2 separate regions of the Homo sapiens genome follow, and region 2 is linked to region 1. The links are contacts of gene promoters, found by promoter capture Hi-C in blood cells and fetal thymus (Javierre and others, 2016). All regions are on one chromosome and are shown on one strand. Each heading gives the region's core, a stretch centred on a gene start or on the middle of the fragment in contact. The rest is flanking DNA. Distances are from core to core; before and after follow the strand shown. Region 1 holds the start of HSDL1 (hydroxysteroid dehydrogenase like 1). Region 2 overlaps NECAB2 (N-terminal EF-hand calcium binding protein 2).

Region 1 (3,583 bases), core at 609-3,108:
AACATTATGCTAAAGGACAGAAACCAAATACAAAAGGCCGTATGTTGTATGTTTCCACTTGTATGAAATGTCCAGCATAAGCAAATCCATAGAGACAGAAGATAACTTAGGGCTGCTGAGGGACAGGGGGAGAAAAGAGGTATGACTGTTAATGGGGTTGGGGTTTCTTTTGTAGGTGATTAAATGTTCTGGAATTAGTTACTGGTGATGGTTGCATAGCATTGTGACTATAGCAAGAACTACTGAGTTATACACTGTAAAATGGCTAAAATGATAAATTTTATGTCATGCGTAAGTCATTTCGATTTTTGAAAACCTACTTTAAAAAAAAGTAGCACCAATATGTTCAACTCTGTTGCCCTAGAATATTCCAGCAGTGATTAAAACCACAAACTTGGCCGGGTACAGTGGCTCATGTCTGTAACCCCAGAACTTTGGGAGGCCAAGGCGGGCAGATCACTTGAGGCCAGGAGTTCAAGGCTACCCTGACCAACACAGCGAAACCCCGTCTCTACTAAAAAAAAAAAAAAAAAAATTAGCTGGGTGTGGTAGAACGTGCCTGTAATCCCAGCTACTCGGAAGGCTGAGGCAGGAGAATCACTTGGGCCCGGGGTGCGGGATGGCGGGCAGAGGTAGCAGGAGCTGAGATCGCAGGCACCATTGCACTACAGCCCGGGCGACAGAGCGAGATTGTCTGAATCAATCAATCAATCAACACCCTCCCCCTCCCCCTCCCTCTCCCTCTCCCTCCCTCCCTCTCTCTCTCTCTCTCTCTCCTGTGGCGGTCAGAGTAAAATTGAGAGCTCACTTTATGCAAAAGACTCTGCTAAGTGCTTTATTCCTATTGTCTCACTTTATTCTCTCATTAATCTTATAAAGCGCAGTCAGACTCTCCCGTTTATAGATGGGGAAATTGAGTCTTATAGATGTAAAGTCGCACACCCAAGACCCCACAACTCAGAAAGGGGCTACCTGCAATTCAGATGGAGGTATAGCAAGGCGCAGAGTCCTGTCCAGGGAGCCCACTGTGAGACCCCCCGACTGCCTCGCAGTCACCTGTACACATCATGTTGGGATCGCCGAGGGGCGCTGCAGCGATCCGGTTTCTGGGGCTGCGTCTGGGTGGCACGTTCAGAACGGGGACCTGCCTGGTTCTTCTTCCCAGCCCTTCCCCTCCAGCACCCGGCAAGGCCCAGTCAACACGAGCAAACTCGGAAATCCTGGCTGAACCCACGACCGCTGCATATTTCCATTTTAGAAAAACACGGCAACAACAACTCAAACCAAATCGTTCAGAAATGAGAATAAAGAAGCACCGACAAAGGAGGCGATTGCTGGGGCCGCTCGGGGGAGGAGCCGGGTGAGAGGCTGCAGGGAGGGCAGGGCATGCGCCGGCGACAACGGGGTTCGCGGTTTGGGGGGCAAGGCCCGGGGGAAGAGAGAGAACAGGGGTGCAGCGCCGCGGCGGGGGGCGTGAGGATGGAGCCGGGGGAAGGGGGGCTCTGAGATGTGAAGGGGCGGGGCTGGGGCTTTTTGGTCTGAAGGAAGGAGTCTCACGGGACGGAGGGACGAAGATTTCCTGGGGTCAGGGGCGCCAAGGGGCTTCGGGGCCGGATGCAGCGGAGGGGGCCCGGGGCCTGGGGGGCGTGGTGAGAGCTCAGAGGGGTCTCGCCAAGCAGCCGGCTGGCGCTGAGGGGACCGAGGAGGGGTCTGGGGCGAAAGGACCGCGAGAGGGCGCCCAGGGCGCGGGGGGCGCGGTACCTGCAGGCCGGCAAAGTCTTCCAAACCGGTCCCGCCAGACCCGCGCGGCCGCCGCCCCCGTCTCGGCCGCCGGAGCTGCTGCCGCGCCGCGCCCTCACGTGACCCGCGTACGCGCCGGGGGCGGAGCCGTCTCAGACCCGCCCCCACCCCCCGGCGTCCCCAGCGCGCCGGTCCGTCCCGAGTGCGCGTGCGCAGCGGTTGCCTGGGCGACCGGGGAAGCGTTGGGCTGTAAAGACTAGGGCGCCAGCGGCTGGCGAAGAAGGAAAGAGGGTACTCTCTGGCTGGGCTGGGGCCGTAGCGACGTCCGCCGCGAACCTGGGCCCCCCAAAGCTGCGGGGCGTTCGGTGTCGCCGAAGTAAACATGCACCCTGAGCCCTCGGAGCCTGCGACAGGTGGTGCAGCAGAGCTGGATTGCGCGCAGGAGCCCGGCGTGGAGGAGTCTGCGGGTGACCACGGGAGCGCAGGCCGAGGGGGCTGCAAGGAAGGTGCCGACTGCCCCCCAGGGAGGGCGGTGGGCGAGGGGCAGACACGGCTAGGCGCTCCAGCCCCCTTCCCACACCACATACCCGATCTTCACAGCCAAATAATAACAATAATAATAATGGTAGCAAGCAACGCTCTGCAGTAGGGGCTTCTCTCGCCATTTCGTACTGAGGAGGAAACATACTTAAGAGGTTACAAAACTTGCACCAAACAGATAACCCTCGGCTAGTCAGTGACAGAAGAGACTTGGCCGGGTGCGGTGGCTCAACGCCTGTAATTCCAGCACTTTGGGAGGCCGAGGCGGGCGGATCATCAGGTCAGTCAGGAGTTCGAGACCAGCCTGGCCAACATAGTGAAACCCTGTCTCTACTAAAAATACAAAAAATGAGCTGGGCGTGGTGGCGGGCGCCTGTAGTCTCAGCTACTTGGGAGGCTGAGGCAGGAGAATCGCTTGAACCCGGGAGGCGGAGGTTGCAGTGAGCCAAGATCTCGCCATTGCATTCCAGCCCGGACGACAGTGGGAGACTCCGTCTCAAACAAACAAACAAACAAACAAGCAAACAAAACCCACCAGACTCAGGCCCAGACAGTCTGGGTCTCCAGAGCCCCAGCCCTAACCCACCACGCTATTCTCCCTGGTCCCAACTTTGATGCTTTAAATGTGTCCCTTTATTGCTATCACTATGTAAGATCAAAGGCTTTCTCTCCCTCCAGACTGCATGTTGTGTCAGGGCAAGACATCTTGATTGAATTTGGAGTCTAGTCCAGTGCCTGACCTAGGGTAGAGAGTCCGAATGAAGACTTGGTTCTGGGGTCAGTGTGTGATCCCCTCACCAAAGTTTGCCAGAATGGACTTGAAAGATAACCTTCATGGCCAGGCACGGTGGCTCACGCCTGTAATCCCAGCAATTTGGGAGGCAGAGGCAGGTGGGTCACCTGAAGTCAGGAGTTCGAGACCAGTCTGGCCAACATATTGAAACCCTGTCTTTGCTAAAAACACAAAAATTAGCAGGGCGTGGTGACGTGCTCCTGTAATTCCACTTACTTGGGAGGCTAAGGCAGGAGAATTCCCTGAACCCCGGAGGCAGAGGTTGCAGTGAGCCAAGGGGGAGGCTGAGGCTGCAGTGAGCCAAGATCACACCACTGCACCCCAGCCTGGGCAATGGAGCAAGACTCCGTCTCAAAAAAAAAAAAGGAAAGAAGGAAGCCTGGCTTCAGCTTCTGCTCCCACTAGACTTGGTGCCCTAAAGGAAACCTTTTAGTGATTACATTAAAAAACCACTTGATTTGTGTTCCAGTTTCTGAACGCAGGCAACAAATAAACCAGCTGATTTGTGTT
Region 2 (3,583 bases), core at 745-3,244, 170 kb before region 1:
GAGAGCAGGTGTGCAGGGAGGTGTGGGTGCAGGGATGAGAGCAGGTGTGCAGGGAGGCGTGGGTGCGGGGATGGGAACAGGTGTGCAGGGAGGTGTGGGTGCAGGGATGGGAACAGGTGTGCAGGGAGGTGTGGGTGCGGGAATGTGAACCGGTGTGCAGGGATGAGAGCAGGTGTGCAGGGAGGTGTGCAGGGATGAGAGCAGGTGTGCAGGGAGGTGTGGGTGCAGGGATGAGAACAGGTGTGCAGGGATGAGAGCAGGTGTGCAGGGAGGTGTGCAGGGATGAGAGCAGGTGTGCAGGGAGGTGTGGGTGCAGGGATGGGAACAGGTGTGCAGGGAGGTGTTGGTGCGGGGATGGGAACAGGTGTGCAGGGAGGTGTTGGTGCGGGAATGTGAACCGGTGTGCAGGGAGGCGTGGGTGCGGGGATGGGAACAGGTGTGCAGGGATGAGAGCAGGTGTGCAGGGAGGTGTGGGTGCGGGGATGGGAACAGGTGTGCAGGGATGAGAACAGGTGTGCAGGGGGTGCAGATGTGGAGGCCGATAGGCCCACAAGCACACACAGGACTGCTCAACACTGACGCTAGCCCTGCCTCACGTGTCCACAGGAAGGATGGATGGGATGCCTCAGGGGAGCGGGAGATGGGGTGCAAACTCAAAGGACCCCCCAGGCTGCCCTTAGGACTTAGAGATTACAGGAACAAAGGCTCAGGGCTGCCCTGTCAGGGTGGCTCCTGTGACAGAGACTTGTTTGGCTGAGCTGGATACCGGATGCCCAGTCCCTATGGGAAGGTTAGCATGAGGGGCCTGACTGGCAGCCTGGGACATAAACTCAGGGGGTGGCAGAGGGCTGAGTGGCAGACAGCATTTCCCTTCAGGGACATGGACGCTGACAGGCTGACAGGCTCTTGGCATTTGAAAGGTCATGGAGACAGAGAGTGAGTTTGTGCTAATTAGCAAAGACACCTGCAAACGGCCCGCTTGGGGTCTCTGGCAAAAGTGCCAGCGCGGGCCCGCTTGGCCTGTCTAATTGGACTGGGGGCCTACGTAGGGCATGTTTTTTCCTCATTAGTGAATTCATTAGGGCCGTGATCAGGCGTTCAGGATAAATGTCAGCCGAAAGCTTAGTGAGGGGGCACCTTGCTGGCCTCTGTCTGCCTGCTCTCCCTGTGTGCCGAGGGGGCACCTTGCTGGTCTCTGGCTGCCTGCTCTCCCTGTGTGCAGAGGGGGCCCAAGGTACCTGGACAGGCACGTGGGGAGATGAGCCAGCCAGAGGGAGGCTGGGATTGGGGCTCACAACCCCTGTCATGCCCATGGTGACTGCCCCTCACCCAAAGTGGGGGTGCCTGAGCCAGCACCCACCCCCTGCTGGGTAGGTGGCGATGTCGCCACAAGATCCTACCCCTGGATTAGGTTGAGAGCCTGGACTTGGGAGCCAGATGGCCTGGGTTCAAGCTTCAGCTGTAGGACCTAGGCAAGTACCCTAAGGGCTCTGTGCCTCAGTTTACCCCTCTCTAACATGGAAGTGGTAGTACTACCTGTGTCGTGAGTGTTAAGAAGACTAAAGGAGTGAGTCCGTGGAAGGTACTCCACGTGTGGTGTGACTCCACACTGGGATTCCTGGGTTTTATCTTCAGGCTTGCCGAAGACACTCGGAAGGCATCCTCTGTCACAGAACACAGAAAGCAACAACTTCGATTTCACTTATCTCGTGGCTGACTTTGCGGACTTTTAGTTGTTAGGTTTTGGGTCTTTGGTTTGTGCATGTGTGGTTGGATTGGGGTTTTTTTGGCCTTTCCTTTGAAAGACAGAAATTCTTCCCACTGTAACCTTGAAATCTGAGCTGCGATGGGGGCATCTTGGGATATTGGCCCTAGCCCCCCGTGCCCACACGTTCATATTCTTTACCGGTCTCTGATACTTTATGCTCTATGGGGTTAAAGAGAAAAGTGGTGGCATGAAACCTTGGCAAGATCTGAGGACCCCCCCTCTCCTGAGCTTATGCTCTCACCCTGTGTTGAGCTCCAGCAGAGCTGCTGGGAGCACAGACAGAAGCACTGGAGCCTTTAAAGTTTAAGAATGACTCATTCTCAACCCAAGTACGTCTGCCATGTCGGGTTAGGCAGGTTGTGCGCTGCACAAGGGCACCCACCCGAGGAAATGGAGGGTTTCAAATCCAGGCTGCAATCCGCTTTCAACACATGTGCACTGACACTGGTCTCATCCTCTCGGCAGAGAAAGGAGAGTCTTTTTCTAATCCATAGGAAGGTGCCATGTGGACTCTCAGGGCCCTTGTCCCAAGCACCCAGCTTTGAATGCAGATCCTCTGGAAGTAATGCCAGGGGTTTATGCAGAGAGGCTGGGGGCCAGGAACTGTCATGGGCTCCCTCTTGTCTCTGACCTCCATGCCACTCACATAGTTTCTCTTAAGGAGGAACAGATCCTTGAGGAGGGGGGAGGTGGCTGCAGGGCAGGTGGGGGATGAGCTTGCTGGCATTTGCTCAGCAGGTCTGTTCAGGTGGAAGGAGCTGAGGGTGGAAGCTTAGGGACCGCCTCCCAGAGTCCCTGATGTTCTTAAGCCACCTCCCCTGGTGGCCCAATCTGATCCAAACCCACAAGACCTTCCTGGTAGGGCCAAAAGTGTCCCCAGAGCAACTGCAAGTGAAGGGAAAAGGTGAGGCGATGGGTGGGACTGGTGGCATGTGTCCCACCCATCCCTCCACAGAGCCCCTCCACAGAGGAGCTGTGGAGGCCCCTCTGTGGAGCTCCACCTCAGAAGCACAGCCTCTGGCCAGAGCGTTGGCACCTCCAGGCCTGGCACCTCCTTCCTGCATGGCTTGGCATCTAGATGGCTGCATCTGTGGCCTGGGAGAGGAGGTAACTGAGAACCTCATGCCGGCCATTGGCAGCCATCTCATGCTGCCTCAGGGAAGGACCTGAAGTTTGCCACATAGATGGGGCGGAGAAGAAAGGGTTCTTCTGTACTCTAAGAACAGTGCTGAGAGAGTCAGGGCTTAGGGGCTGGGATTGGGGTTGGGAGCATGCAGAGACCACTTGGCGTTTGGAAGCTATGGAGTGGTGGCTCATCCAGCTGCTGGTTTTTGGATCCACTTCATACCGATGGTGTGACATGGGACAAGTTGCTCACAGTGGGTTATCTTAAATAGCACCTGCCTCCAGGTGGCCATGTAAATTGAGAGAAAATTCACTGGCAGGGGGCAGATACTCTATATTTGTTGAACGCATGGAAAATGTTGAGTGCATGGTGAGCCCAAGAAAGCTAGCTATTGCATTATTGTTAGTTTGAGGATTATCTGTAAACAGGCATTGGTCTGGGAATTAGCTGGATGAGGCATGATTCTCTGTGTACTGGAGTTTACTGGTTAGTGTGGGAATTAGCTGGGTGGGTAGGGATTATCTAAAATGGAATTTGTCTTTTAGTTTGGGGATTAGCTGGGAGGGTAGGGATTATCTGAGCTGCAGTTGTTCTGTCAGTCAGGCCATTGACTGGATTTGGGGGCCGTGCATGCACTAGCCCCACCAGCCTTATCTCTGCAGACACCAGCTCCTTTCTCTGCTTCCTTC

What was found. Contacts are between HindIII fragments. The CHiCAGO score rates a contact against its expected background, and 5 or more counts as called.
Region 2: a contact is called between a fragment that was not itself captured here and the fragment with the promoter of HSDL1 in region 1, in 1 of 17 cell types (M0 macrophages). The highest score is 5.0, in M0 macrophages.

The regions. Positions count from the first base shown.
Region 1 is chr16:84,143,319-84,146,901 of GRCh38, forward strand. HSDL1 (hydroxysteroid dehydrogenase like 1) reads right to left here and starts at 1,859. Exons shown (of 6, transcript NM_031463.5): 1 at 1,762-1,859. It overlaps DNAAF1 (dynein axonemal assembly factor 1), which reads left to right and starts at 1,990. Exons shown (of 12, transcript NM_178452.6): 1 at 1,990-2,246. The coding sequence starts at 2,123. RefSeq lists silencers at 1,284-1,333, 1,384-1,433, 1,594-2,043. The HindIII fragment of the contact is 7,366 bases long and covers 1-3,583 here.
Region 2 is chr16:83,974,854-83,978,436 of GRCh38, forward strand. The region is part of intron 2 of NECAB2 (N-terminal EF-hand calcium binding protein 2); the gene reads left to right. Among named protein-coding and RNA genes, the nearest start is that of NECAB2, 8.4 kb to the left of the region's middle. The HindIII fragment of the contact is 1,086 bases long and covers 1,452-2,537 here.